Linked DNA regions of Homo sapiens: all the other regions are linked to region 4. The links are contacts of gene promoters, found by promoter capture Hi-C in blood cells and fetal thymus (Javierre and others, 2016). All regions are on one chromosome and are shown on one strand. The core of a region is centred on a gene start or on the middle of the fragment in contact, and the rest is flanking DNA. Distances in the headings are between cores, read along the strand shown. Region 1 has its middle 23 kb from the start of ST8SIA1. Region 2 has its middle 65 kb from the start of ST8SIA1. Region 3 has its middle 3.8 kb from the start of ST8SIA1. Region 4 holds the start of CMAS (cytidine monophosphate N-acetylneuraminic acid synthetase).

Evidence for each region. Contacts are between HindIII fragments. The CHiCAGO score rates a contact against its expected background, and 5 or more counts as called.
Region 1: a contact is called between a fragment that was not itself captured here and the fragment with the promoter of CMAS in region 4, in 1 of 17 cell types (erythroblasts). The highest score is 6.6, in erythroblasts.
Region 2: a contact is called between a fragment that was not itself captured here and the fragment with the promoter of CMAS in region 4, in 10 of 17 cell types (naive CD4 T cells, activated CD4 T cells, total CD8 T cells and 7 more). The highest score is 11.2, in naive CD4 T cells.
Region 3: a fragment that was not itself captured here is called in contact with the fragment with the promoter of CMAS in region 4 in 2 of 17 cell types (non-activated CD4 T cells and erythroblasts); the score reaches 6.5 in non-activated CD4 T cells.

What each region holds. Positions count from the first base shown.
Region 1 is chr12:22,356,203-22,359,624 of GRCh38, forward strand. No RefSeq gene overlaps it. Among named protein-coding and RNA genes, the nearest start is that of ST8SIA1, 23 kb to the left of the region's middle. The HindIII fragment of the contact is 7,951 bases long and covers 1-3,422 here.
Region 2 is chr12:22,398,202-22,401,774 of GRCh38, forward strand. No RefSeq gene overlaps it. Among named protein-coding and RNA genes, the nearest start is that of ST8SIA1, 65 kb to the left of the region's middle. The HindIII fragment of the contact is 233 bases long and covers 1,162-1,394 here.
Region 3 is chr12:22,336,714-22,340,295 of GRCh38, forward strand. No RefSeq gene overlaps it. Among named protein-coding and RNA genes, the nearest start is that of ST8SIA1, 3.8 kb to the left of the region's middle. The HindIII fragment of the contact is 6,355 bases long and covers 1-3,582 here.
Region 4 is chr12:22,044,227-22,047,630 of GRCh38, forward strand. CMAS (cytidine monophosphate N-acetylneuraminic acid synthetase) reads left to right here and starts at 1,992. Exons shown (of 8, transcript NM_018686.6): 1 at 1,992-2,337. The coding sequence starts at 2,078. RefSeq lists enhancers at 1,809-2,103, 2,419-3,124 and silencers at 1,876-2,245, 1,889-2,116. The HindIII fragment of the contact is 10,395 bases long and covers 1-3,404 here.

The sequences.
Region 1 (3,422 bases), core at 315-2,814, 310 kb after region 4:
TCCTAAGAGCAAAGTAGCAATATATTTATGGATACAATGTCTTCAGGGCCATAGCAAGTGCAGCGTTCCTATAAATATATCATTTCTATTTTAACACTGAGCTCTGTTGAGCTGCTCCTTCCTTATCAGAATGAATCTGACATTACCTATGACATCAAGGTACTTTAGATCTCAGAATTATTTGAAATCCCTGAGTGGTGGGAACAATCTCCACTAAAGCCCAGTAAAAGGGCAGTAATTGTCTCTCAAAGGGGCCATATCTTGTCTTGACATCAAGTATCTTCAAATTCAATATTCTTCCAGCAGTCACTGCTTAGTGCAAGGAGAACAGTGTTAACAACTTTGGCAAGAGACTACAATCTGCACATATCTATCTAGATAGTAAAAACCTCCAAAATAATTTGTACAGTAGGCCAACCCAAATAGTGCTGTTTTGGGTTACAGCTCTCTGTAAGTCTTCAAAGCCTGTTTTTGTTTTGGGATATCTTTCAAATTCACACTTTTCTTTCTTGTCACTCGATGTATTTTAGCTAGCAAGATGCCCAGGAACAGCGAGTGGTGTCCCCCAAGCCCAAAATGCCCCACAGATTTTTGTGTCTCCTTCTTATTAGCAGAGCCTAGCAAACACATTCATTTATTCTCTGCCTTCGGTGGACTGTCTCTTGCGGCCTTCACTCCAAGCCACGTTCAAGTGTTTAACTGATTGAGCTGTATTTTAACCACACAGATTAGCCATCTTCAACTACTCATAGATGCCAGTACTGTTCTCAGATCCTCCTAGGCTTCCCGCTCTGACAGGGAAACTTTCCTGTTATCATTAATGCATATATCAACTTGCATTTGACTGTGATTAAGTCTAAACCTTACCTCACCAACTCGTCAAAATATACTGGAGAATTCAACTACTTGTAGCAGAGAATGGTGAGTGTATATCAATCATTCCCCTGAAAAGGGACATTTTGCCTGATTTCTTCTAAGACTAGGACAGAAAAGAAAAAAAAAAACACCACGACTTTCACAGCATCCCAGTCATATTACCCTATTGGTTTCCTAAATAGGTTCACCCATGTCTGACATGATGGGGGTTATCAATGGAGCTACTTGGTTTAAGCCACAATAAACAAGTTACTTTACAGGAGTCACCCATTTTTCTTCCCACAAGCAAGAGAGGACGGTTGTAAAGCAAGCTGTTGGAAATTAGTATCATTCTACTATATTTTAATTTTAATTTTTATTATTTTTAAAATAAATGCTATTGTGTATATTTGAGGTTTACAATATGATGTTATTGGATACATTTAAATAGTAAAATAGTTACTGCAGTGAAGCAGATTAATATATCTATCATCTCACATGGTCACTTTCTTTTTGTGGCAAGAGCAGCTAAAATGTGCTTAATGAAATCCCGAATACGATATAATTTCATTAACTGCAGTCCTCATGTACATTAGATCTCTAGACTTGTTCATCCTACATATCTGCTACTTTGTATCCTTTGACCTTCATCACCCCATTTCCTTCACATCCCCCCACCCCAGTAACCACTGTTTTATTCTCTGTCTCTATGTATTTGACATTTTTTTAAAAGATTCCATATGTAAGTGAGATCATTAAATACATTTCTTTCTGTTTCTGGCTTATCTCACTTAGCATAATGTCCTCCAGGTCCGTCCATGTTGTGACAAATGGCAGGATCTCCTTTTTTAAGGCAGAACAGTATTGTATCTCATATATATATGAGATATATATATGAGATATATGTAGATGAGATATATATGAGATATATAGATGATATATATATGAGATATATGTATATGAGATATATATGAGATATATGTATATGAGATATATATATGAGATATATGTAGATGAGATATATATGAGATATATGTAGATGAGATATATATATGATATATGTAGATGAGATATATATGAGATATATGTAGATGAGATATATATATGTTATATGTAGATGAGATATATATGATATATGTAGATGAGATATATGTATGATATATGTAGATGAGATGTATATGATATATGTAGATGAGATATATATATGATATATGTAGATGAGATATATATGATATATGTAGATGAGATATATATATGAGATATATGTAGATGAGATATATATGAGATATGTAGATGAGATATATATATGAGATATATGTAGATGAGATATATATATGAGATATATGTAGATGAGATATATATGAGATATATGTAGATGAGATATATATGAGATATGTAGATGAGATATATATGAGATATATGTAGATGAGATATATATGAGATATATGTAGATGAGATATATATATGTGATATATATGAGATATATATGAGATATATGTAGATGAGATATATATGAGATATATGTAGATGAGATATATGAGATATATGTAGATGAGACATATATGATATATATGTAGATGAGATATATATGCGATATATATGAGATATATATATGAGATATATGTAGATGAGATATATATATGAGATATATGTCGATGAGATATATATATGACATATATGTCGATGAGATATATATATGAGATATATGTATGAGATATATATGAGATATATGTACATGAGATATATATGAGATATATGTAGATGAGATATATATGAGATATATGTAGATGAGATATATATATGAGATATATGTATATGAGATATATATATGAGATATATGTAGTTGAGATATATATGAGAGATATATGTAGATGAGATATATATACAAGATATATGTATACGAGATATATATATATGAGATACAATACTGTTCTGCCTTAAAATATATCTGAGATATATATATATCAGATTATCTTTATCCATTTGCTCATCAGCAGACACTTACACTGTTTCCCTATCATGGGCATTGTGAATAATGCTGTAATAAACATGAGAATGCAGATATCTTTATGAGTTGGTGATTTCATCTCTTTTGGGCATGTAACCAGAAGAGGGATTGCTGGGTCATATGGTTGTTCTACTTTTAATTTCTTTAGGAATCTCCATACTGTTTATCCATAGAGGCTACACCAATCTACATTCTTACTATAGGATTAAACCACTCTATTATATATTTAAATTAAAGCTGGAAATTTCTTGTTATCCTTCTGGGATTTGGGTATTGCTTAATATTCACTATGGAGGAGAGTTTGGACAATTCTAAGATTTCCTAATTAACATACTCAATTAAAATCAGGCAAAGGGTAGAAGAAGTCCCAGCAACAGCAAAGCCTTCCATTCACAATGACACTTATTCCAACTATGCACTCAGATGCATGTTTTGTGTCTTGGGTTTTTGTTGTTGTTTTGTTTCTTTTTCACTTTTTAAACAGTGGCTTCACCATAACCCTAGGACTTACCATGACAACATCGCTATGCCCCTAAAAGGCTCTTTTTTGGTTTCCTGA
Region 2 (3,573 bases), core at 28-2,527, 350 kb after region 4:
AGTTGATTGTCCTTCCCCAATCTGGTGAATATCTGGATCTGATCTTTTAGATCTTTAAGATTTTGGGCTACAATTCCTGGCTTATTAATGTGTAAACAGCATTTTTTTTCTAATACGGCAGTTTCAATATAATAGATTTTCCTGGTTTGCAGTTTGAATGTCTCTGGTGATGCCATTGGGCATTCTGGTTAACTTTCTGCATGGCCCACACAGCAGGCAAAAAGGTTGTCAACATATGAGCTGCTGTGGTGATTTCTCTGAAATGCATATCAAGTCATCCAGCCCCAGCTTGTGGACCTGCAAGGCTAGGAACAACCCTAGTAGTATGATTTTAAAGCTATCAGAAACCTGTCAGAATTTTGCAATTTTGTAACATAGCTACTTGCAAAAACTTCTAGAAAAACCATCAGAGTAAAAAAATAACTATTTTTGAATGACAAAATACTTAAAATGACCACAGTTAAAGATGATGATAAGCATTTATATAAATGAAATTGATGAGGAAATATGGTTATTTCTGTGACATATAACATTTTAAGGTAATAACCAGGATTATAACTGATTATACAGACAATAAGAAAATTAAAAAATTTCTAACAACTCTATATAATTTTTGGAATACCTATATCCACATAAATATAATCTAAAGAAGGTTTATCATCACTTCTTATTTAACAATGCTTCCCATACAATTTAACATACCAAATAAACCTAATTATTTTAACATCTCTTTCTGATAAGACTAGATATTAATCCTTTGTGTTTCTCCAGCAGCCCTCTGGAAAATCTCAAAATTAGGTTGAGGTCAAGCAGATTGTATTTAAGATTTGGTTTGGGGAAGGTGAAATAGTCAAAAATGTCAAAAGATTTTAAACACTTGATTAAATGGGACACTTGAAACAATACTTAGTTATCCCTGTAACCAAAATAAGAATTAATGATTTCAAAGACAAATACAGAAAGTTATATAGTTGACAAAAACCTCAGCTCTTTTAACAGAGAAGTCTGTTTTCTTAAGTTGTCAGACATGATCAAGACAACATGAAGCAAAGGAAAGTATTTTGATAAGACCAAAATCCTTTTGTTTTTAGGCAAATCACTTAGGAGGTAAAGAGAAACCTTTCATAGTCACTTACCAGGAATACACCAATAACCTAAGAAAGCTTTGTTCTTTTAACAAAAATAAGACCAAAATCTAATTTTGTCTCAACATACTTTTGATACTAAGCCTCATTTTTAAACCATTATAATAAATTCATTTCATTTCAGCCAGCCTAACTACATAAGATTATCTCTCTTCATATTATCTCTTTCTCTTTCTCTCTCTCCCCCCACCCCAATTTCTATGTCCATTTAGTTTTTGTCCTTCATTTCCCTCTTTTTCATTTGAAACAAGCTTTAAACTCTAAAATAGAACAATAATTTTCTTTTTCTCAGCAAAAAACACATCCTTATACTTTATAACTTATCTTACCAAAAATAAACCTTACTTTCCTTGTCTAATTTATATTAATTCGTTTTTCTTATTATTTCTAGTGTCCTTAATTACATATATTAATTAATTCTTAGCTCTTAGTAAACTTAATTTTCAGCAAAAATGAGGAAGTATGCCATTTCATAACTATGAGAAAGCATCGTACAATTTTTAAATGTAGCACGTTTACTTACAAACTCAAATATCTTTAGTGTCTGTAATAAGAAGCTGCAGAGTAGGCAAAATTTTATTTCTATCCTCTTAGAGTTTTCAGCTGAGACTGAGAAACAAATTTTTGTTTGTACAGATTTCCCTTTGCCTCAACTTTGCATTCTTGACAAGAATGTTACTTCCCTTCTTATAAGGGGAGAACATCTTTCATGTGGAAATTTTATCTTCTGCTTTTAAGAATTAGAAGGGAGAGGTTCCAAGATGGCCAAATAGAAACAACTCCAGTCTATAGCTCCCAGTGTGAGCGATGCAGAAGATGGGTGATTTCTGCCTTTTCAACTGAGGTACCGGGTTCATCTCACTGGGGCTTGTCAAACAGTGGGTGCAGGACAATGGATGCAGCCCACGGAGTGTAAGCCAAAGCAGGGCGGGCATCGCCTCACCCAGGAAGTGCAAGGGGTCAGGGAATTCCTTTTCCTGGCCAAGGGAAGCTGTGACAGATGGTACCTGGAAAATCGGGACACTCCCACTCTAATACTGTGCTTTTCCAATGGTCTTAGCAAATGGCACACCAGGAGATTATATCCCGCACCTGGCTGGCTGGGAGGGTCCCACGCCCACAGAGCCTCGCTCACTGCTAGCACAGCAGTCTAAGATCGAACTGCAAGGTGGCAGCAAGGCTGGGGGATGGGCGTCCACCATTGCTGAGGCTTGAGTAGGTAAACAAAGCAGCTGGGAAGCTCGAACTGGGTGGAGCCCACCACAGCTCCAGGAGGCCTGCCTGCCTCTGTACACACCACCTCTGGGGGCAGGGCATAGCGGAACAAAAGGCAGCAGAAACTTCTGCAGGCTTAAATGTCTCTGTCTGACAGCTTTGAAGAGACTAGTGGTTCTCCTAGCACAGAGTTTGAGATCTGAGAATGGATAGACTGCCTCCTCAAGTGGGTCCCTGACCCTCAAGTAGCCTAACCGGGAGGCACCTCCCAGTAGGGGCCAACTGACACCTCATACACCTGGGTGCCCCTCTAAGACGAAGCTTCCAGAGGAAGGATCAGGAAGCAACATTTGCCGTTCCACAATATTTGTTGTTCTGCAGCCTCCGCTGGTGATACCCAGGCAAACAGGGTCTGGAGTGGAACTCCAGCAAACTCCAACAGACCTGCAGGTGAGGGTCCTGACTGTTAGAAGGAAAACTAACAAACAGAAAGGACATCGACACCAAAATCCCATCTGTACATCACCGTCATCAAAGACCAAATGTAGATAAAACCACAAAGATGGGGAGAAGCCAGAGCAGAAAAGCTGAAAATTCTAAAAATCACAGCGCCTCTTCTCCACCAAAGGAATGCAGCTCCTCACAAACAATGGAACAAAGCTGGATGGAGAATGACATTGACGAGTTGAGAGAAGAAGGCTTCAGACAATCGGGAATAACAAACTTCTCCGAGCTAAAGGAGGATGTTTGAACCCATTGCAAAGAAGCTAAAAACCTTGAAAAAAGATTAGACGAATGGCTAACGAGAATAAGCAGCATACAGAAGACCTTAAATGACCTAATGGAGCTGAAAACCATGGCATGAGAACTATGTGACGCATGCACAAGCTTCAGTAGCCAATTCGATCAAGTGGAAGAAAGGGTATCAGTGATTGAAGATCAAATGAAGCGAGAAGAGAAGTTTAGAGAAAAAAGAGTAAAAAGAAACGAACAAAGCCTCCAAGAAATATGGGACTATGTGAAAAGACCAAATCTACTTCTGATTGGTGCACCTGAAAGTGACAGGGAGAATAGAACCAAGTTGGAAAACACTCTTCAGGATATTATCCAGGAGAACCTAGTAAAGCAGGCCTAGTAAAGCAGGCCAACATTCAAATTCAGGAAATACAGAGAACACCACAAAGATACTCCTCGAGAAGAGCAAATCCAAGAC
Region 3 (3,582 bases), core at 820-3,319, 290 kb after region 4:
GCTGAGGAGGCCTCAGGAAACTTACAATCCTGGTGGAAGGCAAAGTGGCATGTCTTACTTGGTGGCAGGCAAGAGGGAGAATGTGTGTGTAGGATGAACTGTCAAACACTTATAAAACCATCAGATCTCGTGAGAACTCGCTATCATGAGAACAGCCTGGGGGAAACAGCCCCCACGATCCAATCACCTCTCACCAGGTCCCACCCTGGACACAGGGGGGTTACGGAGATTACAATTCAAGATAAGATTTGGGTGGGGACACAGAGCCAAACTATATCACACACAGGTCTCAGTTCTGTCACAGTGTTGTGATCCGCTCATGTGATGTGTGTTTGTTTTTGTTTTCTTTTTCTCCCCATGTATAAATCCAGTGCATTATTCAAGACCAAGCCAAGTTATCTAGAAAGTTCTCATTCAATAATGTGTTCCCAGGACACCTAAAACACAGACTTTATGAGAACTCAATAAATATTTGTGGTATCTGCTTCTACTCTCTTTGACCTCCTGTTCTGATGTCATAGTATTTGCTGGCTCTGACTGATGATTAAACACTTAGTTGTGTTGTGTTGTCTTGTATTGCTAGTATTTTTCATATATAACTATGTCTCACCAACTAGGCAGGAAGGGGATTTAGTTTTATGTATCAAATGAAAAGCCTGTGCTTTTGATCAAATTAGGACTCCACAGGGCATGGCTAAGTGTCTAGGAGAAGAGCAAGAACAATATTTCACATTTTCTTCATGTTCCTCCAGGTATCAACTCAGGCACTTCAACAAATAATTGTTGCTTGGTTTTATAATGAGATCCTCAAACTTATTCAGTCTATTGCCAAGGCATCACTGTTTAAGGAAAAGTATGAACCCCCAAGTTTTAATGTTTTAAATAAAATATTTTAATTGATATTTAGCCATCTTGTTTGTATGACTTATAGTAAGTAGCTTAGGTATTCTTTTATACTTCTGCATCTGAGTATGCTTAGCGGACACAAACAGGATTTCCTCAGGGACTAAACAACTTTTAAAACTCTATAAATGTGTAGTAGAAAAATGTAAAGGCAGGAGTCCAGATTAAACAGAATTGTCAGTGATTTGAGATAAAATTTTAAAAGGCCAATCTTCAGTCTCTGCTCAAGTTCTTCTTGTCAGAATGGCTTGGAATGGCCAGTCAAAAGCATAAAATGATGCCTGTTTCACAACCAATTACAACACCAAGGTAAATAAGGTTGTAGATTGAGAAAGGTTATAAATATAGTTTATCTGAATAAATGCATTTATTTATCTCCACTCCCTATTGTGACCTCACTAAAAGAAGAGTAAAGGAGTAAAAGTGAAAAAGATTCAGAAGAACAAGAAAAAACGAAGGAATACAAAAGCAGACAAAGGATGTCAAAAAGTTCACAAGCAGGAAAGCAATTAAACAAGTGTTAACTGACTTATCAGGAGAGAGAAAGGTCTGGGCCTTCAAGTAACTCTGTGTGTGTGTGTGTGTGTGTGTGTGTGTGTGTGTGTGTGTGTGTGTGTGTGTCCACGTGCACAGAAAATTGAGGAGCATAGAGAGAAGCCAACAAGAATCAAGCTAATTTATACTAGAGAGTTCTTGAAAGGCTCAGAAACGAAGGCACCTAGGACCTCTGGAGATGGAGGTAATGAATGAAACAAACTAAGAGGTTTGTTGGAAATCTTTAAAAAGGAGCAGTTGAAACATCTAGATCTTATTCCCCAACTGGCTTAAAACGGGAGGTTAAATCTCTAGAGACTGACCAGCACAAAAGAGAAGACCTACAGATTCTGATATGTTTAAGAGATCTCCAATCGAATGGCCAAATCCCTGTCTAACACCCTCTAGTGAGACCCATTAGTGTATAAGCTCTGCCTACACCGAGTTTCGTGGCCTCTTTTTCAGGCCTCCTTCTTAAATATGAGGGGAGAGTCAAGGATCCCTAGACATTTGAAGAGAGTCTCCAACATGAAAGTAGAGACAAAACAAGCAAATGATCACACACAGAAATCAACTCTAGGAAAAAATGATAATGCAGGAAACATAAGAAATCTTCAATAAAAACCATAATTAATATTCTCACATGGACTGAGACACAATCCAATGAAGCAAGAACAAAAGGAATGTTCAGATGACTAAAAATAAAGTCCTTTGAAACTTAAAATATGGTAACAAAATATATAACAGAATTCATAGAAAAGTTGAATTACAAAGTTAAAGAAATATCCCAGAAAGTAGGCCAAAAATATAAAAGAGGGTAAACAAGATAATAAATTATAGGCTCAAAGAAAAAATAAATATCCAAACAACAAGAAACAAAAAGCAGATTTTCAAAGACATACTAAAAAGAATCCTAAAATTTAAGAGTTCATTAAGGACTCAATAAAATGAATTTTTTAAACCTACACCAAAGGTATATAACACTGAAATTTTAGAAAATAAGAAACAGAAAATAATGGAAGTTTAAAGAAGAAAATGCATGCAAAAGATTGGAAATTATGTTGGGATTAGATTTATTTAAAGCAAGAAAGCTGAAAATCAACAACTTTACTTGGGCTCAATAAAGAACTAAAGTTACAAGGCAATTCCCCTCTCCTCCAAAATGGAGAAATGGACAAATCCAGAGCCAGAGTTGAGGTATGTTTATCTGGAGCAGAAGATGTTGAAGCCATAAACTGGTAGGAACGCTTCAGTGGTCATTTGGAATTGGCATAGTGGAATTGCTGGAGGCTAAGTGTGGACTAGAGTGAAAGGGAGAAACTCCTGGGGATCACAATCAGGAAGTCCTGGAGATCATAGTCAGGTGGGCCTCCACACTTTTTATAGTTTTACCTCCAAGAATCTCACTCACACAGGATGGGGGCCAGGGAAGTATTGGGTAAAAAAGGACAGTGTCCCTGGAGATGGCTCCACCCTCAGGCCTGTGCCCACAGACCTAAGTGAGAACAGGCACTCCTGTTTTCGTGCCCAAATGTTGCATTTTCCAAGACTGCTCTGGCCTACCATGCCCCCCATCCTGTTCCCATATAAACCTAAGGCCTTAGCAGGCACAGACGCAAGCAGCTGAAGGTTGAGCGAAGCAGAAGAACACACCAGCAGACACCAGCAGACCGGCAGACCAGCAACGGCAGAACGACATGGCAGAGAAAGAAAGAAGAGCAGGGACATCTGGATGCCAAGAGGAGTTCGGCCGGGGGCGGTTAGAGAAGAGTCTGGCAGCTGGGCAGCCCAACTCCTGAGGAAGACCACATTTCCATTCCATCCCCCTCTTCCAGCTCCCCATCCATCTTGCTGAAAGCCACCCCCACCACTCAATAAAACTTTGCACTGATCCTTCCAGCCCACATGTGATCCGATTTTTCCAACACACTGGGTAAGAGCTCAGGATACAGAAAGCTGTCACACTGGCCCTCTGCCCTTGCAATAAGGCAGAGGGTCTATTGAGCTGATTAACACAAGCTGTCTGCAGACAGCAAAGCTGAAAAAGCACACTGTAACACATGCCCACTTGGGCTTCGGGAGTCGCAGACACCCATCCCTAGATGCTGCCATGGGGCCAAAGCCCAAAAGTGCTCCACACAGCCT
Region 4 (3,404 bases), core at 742-3,241:
CAGCTTAGAGGACACCAATATGCCCCAGGAGTCAAAACTACTCAGGTGTCTGTGGTCCACTAGGATTTATGGGCCTGTAGGGAATTACTGTGGAGAAGGGCAACTAAATCATTAATAGGAATCAAGATTGTTATTGGGGTGTAGTAGGGGTCCTCACATGACTACCAAAAGCTCAGTGCTGGTGTCTCTGAGGCACAGCAACTGCAAAGGCCCTACTCAAAGAGCCAGTGTATGGGGGCAAGTTGTCCCCTTGCCCTTCAGTGCTGGAATGGCTCATAGAGCCTGCCCCTTTCCCAAGCATGGCATTGATGTCTGCTCACAGCCTCCCTTATCTGTGTCTGCACGAAGCACCTTCTTCCAGCACCAGTCCCAGGAAGGGCTGGGCCCTCAGTTAATTCACAGACTAAGAGATGTAAAGTATCCAGTACCTCTCATAGGACCCAAAACATCAAAGACTTCTTCTCTCCCCTCAAAAATGGCCAAGACCTGAGAAGTACAAAATCCTTTTGCCCTCTGGGAGAAGGCAAGCCGACACACTACAATCCATTCTTTCTGTTTGTATCAGCCTCCATCTCAGAAATGTAAAAGACTCTACTTCCAAATATAGGCTTGCAAACATGCTGAAAGACAAAATGCATGCTAGGTCAGAGATGCCTGCTTTAAAGTCTCTTTTTTTTTTTTTCCTAAGAGAGGTGTGTGTGGGTGTATGTCTTTGAGCCTCTTGGCTGGATCAGGGTTTAAATGCTCAGGCGTGGCGGCTCATGCCTATAATCCCAGCACTTTGAGAGGCTGAGGCGGGCAGATCACTTGAGGTCAGGAGTTCAAGACCAGCCTGGCCAACCTGGTGAAACCCCCAACTCAACTAAAAATACAAAAATTATCTGGGTGTGGTGGTGCCCCTCTGTAATCCCAGCTACTCAGGACGCTTGAGAATGGGTGGCAGAGGGTTGCAGCGAGCCGAGATTGTGCCACTGCACTCCAGCCTTCTGGGGGACACAGTGAGAATCTGTCTCAAAAAAAAAAAAGAGTTTAAATGATGCCTCCAGAATTCTTTCTCTTTAATCCCTACATGTCATTGTTCTGCTTCCTCAGGGAGAACATCAGTCTTCCAGCCCATTTCAGAACAGCAAAGCCCCCCTGCCGCCCTACCCTACCCTTGCCCTGAGGCTTCAGGTTAACAAGGTCCTTAGCACCCAGTCAGCACGAGAAAGATCCTTTCTTTCCAAGACTCTCTGGAAAGGACTCCAGTGGGCTCTGCTTGGTCATATGCCTGTCCCTAGACCACAGGTGTGTTAAGGAAAATGGGGTGCGTAGATGGACCAGCTTGGGTCACACACAGTGCAGAGAATGTGAGGGAAACCCTCACCGGATGAGAGAGGGATCAATTCCTAAAAGGAAAAGATTTTTAGCAGACAACAAAACAAAACCAAAAAACCAAGTGTCGGCCACACTAGAGGTGACCAGTAAAGCTGACTTCCAAATTTCTGCTGCTAGGGAATGCTGATGTCGATCAAAGTGCGGAGAGCATATGAAAAATGGAGTTTTTAAAACGTTGAGTTTAAGGCGCCTGTAGGATATTTGAATGAGCTGGTCAGTAATTTCTTGGAAAAAATGACCCAGGGGCATTAAAAAAAGGTGTATGTTTAAAATGTACATTTTAAAATATAAAATGGATTCGTGTCAGGGTGCATCAAGGTATGCAACGGGAAACCCACCACAATTCTAAAGTGGGGAAGTTCTTCAGCAATTATAAATACTTTTTTTCTTTTTTAATTTTAGAAATTTACAGACACTTGCAAGCACCCCAAAAGCCGCACTTCCTCCAAATATCTCTGGACTCCCACTGCTTGACTTAGTTTTGGGGTCACCTCATCAGAGCCTACTTGGCCTACTGGCCCCAGACGAGGCGGCCGCGGACTACAATTCCCAGCGAGCACCGCGAGGGGCGGGGGAGGGGGCGGGGCGAGGGACGGCCGCGCGCGCCAGCTGCCAGGCGGGGATCGGGCGGCGCCGAGCTGAGGTGGTGAGGGACTAGCTCCCGGATGTGGAGAAGCTGGGGAGAAGGCGTGGGAGGAAGATGGACTCGGTGGAGAAGGGGGCCGCCACCTCCGTCTCCAACCCGCGGGGGCGACCGTCCCGGGGCCGGCCGCCGAAGCTGCAGCGCAACTCTCGCGGCGGCCAGGGCCGAGGTGTGGAGAAGCCCCCGCACCTGGCAGCCCTAATTCTGGCCCGGGGAGGCAGCAAAGGCATCCCCCTGAAGAACATTAAGCACCTGGCGGGGGTCCCGCTCATTGGCTGGGTCCTGCGTGCGGCCCTGGATTCAGGGGCCTTCCAGAGGTGCGCATGTGCGAGAGTGGGCGGCGCGGCCTGGGCGGGGGTCGGGAGAGGGAGTCGGGCTGCTGGAGGGGCTGGGGCCTCCGGGGCCACCGCTCTTGGAAGGGGGCCATCTCTCATGCCAGGGATGTGCAAGATCCGGGGTGCCTGGGGCCGGGCTGAGAGCCCAGGAGGAAGGGCTCCAGCTCCTTCCTTGTTCCGTAGCTGCCAATGGTCATAACCTGGGACAGTTCCTGTCTCCGCCCTTGAGAATCATCCGTAAAAGGGGAGATTACACCTCCCCAACCGTCCCCTCCTCCCGGGTTGACCTTACGGGGAAAAGTAAAGGAGGCCACCCCGGTGCAACATCTGTGATAATATGTGAACTTCTTTGGATGGGGGCCATCGAAGCTCCCCTGTTGCTCAGCCTCTGATAACTGCTTGGTGCTGCTCGATTAGGGAGGCATCAGGTTCATGAATGGAGTTGAGTGTCGGGGTGTCAGAGCTGAATTTCAAGCTCAGCTTGGAGATCTTTTCCTAACCTTTGAAAAATACTCCAGCTATCTTCCTGTGAGTCAGCACAATCTAGAAAACTCCCTACATTTATAAATACGTGAGACTCAGTGGGAAGGTGTACAACTGACTGTTTTATGATATATTAATACTTACAAATCATTTAATCATACCTTTGGAACCTCGCCTGCCCTATGGACAGTTTTAATTATGCGTAATTTAGATACATTGCCAAATTGGTCAGGAGTTACAAGCTGATGTTATTCATAAAAGAAGGGAGATCGAATTCTGTGCCAAGAATGAATTTACACATATAGCTTCAACCTAACTACATTTGAATGTGTTGTTATTGTGGAAATTAATTTATGTTAACCTTTTGATGTTTCGATTTTTAAAGAGATGACTGTTTTTGAAGTCATCTCTTTTTCTTTTTGAACCTATATTTGCTTACCCATATTAATATATGGGTAAATGATTTTCATTTAACCAGTCTTGTTCAAAAACGGGAGATGCCAAAAAAGTATAAATATACTAATTTTCTTAATGTTTCAACCCAAAAGAAGTCCTGGATGGACCAA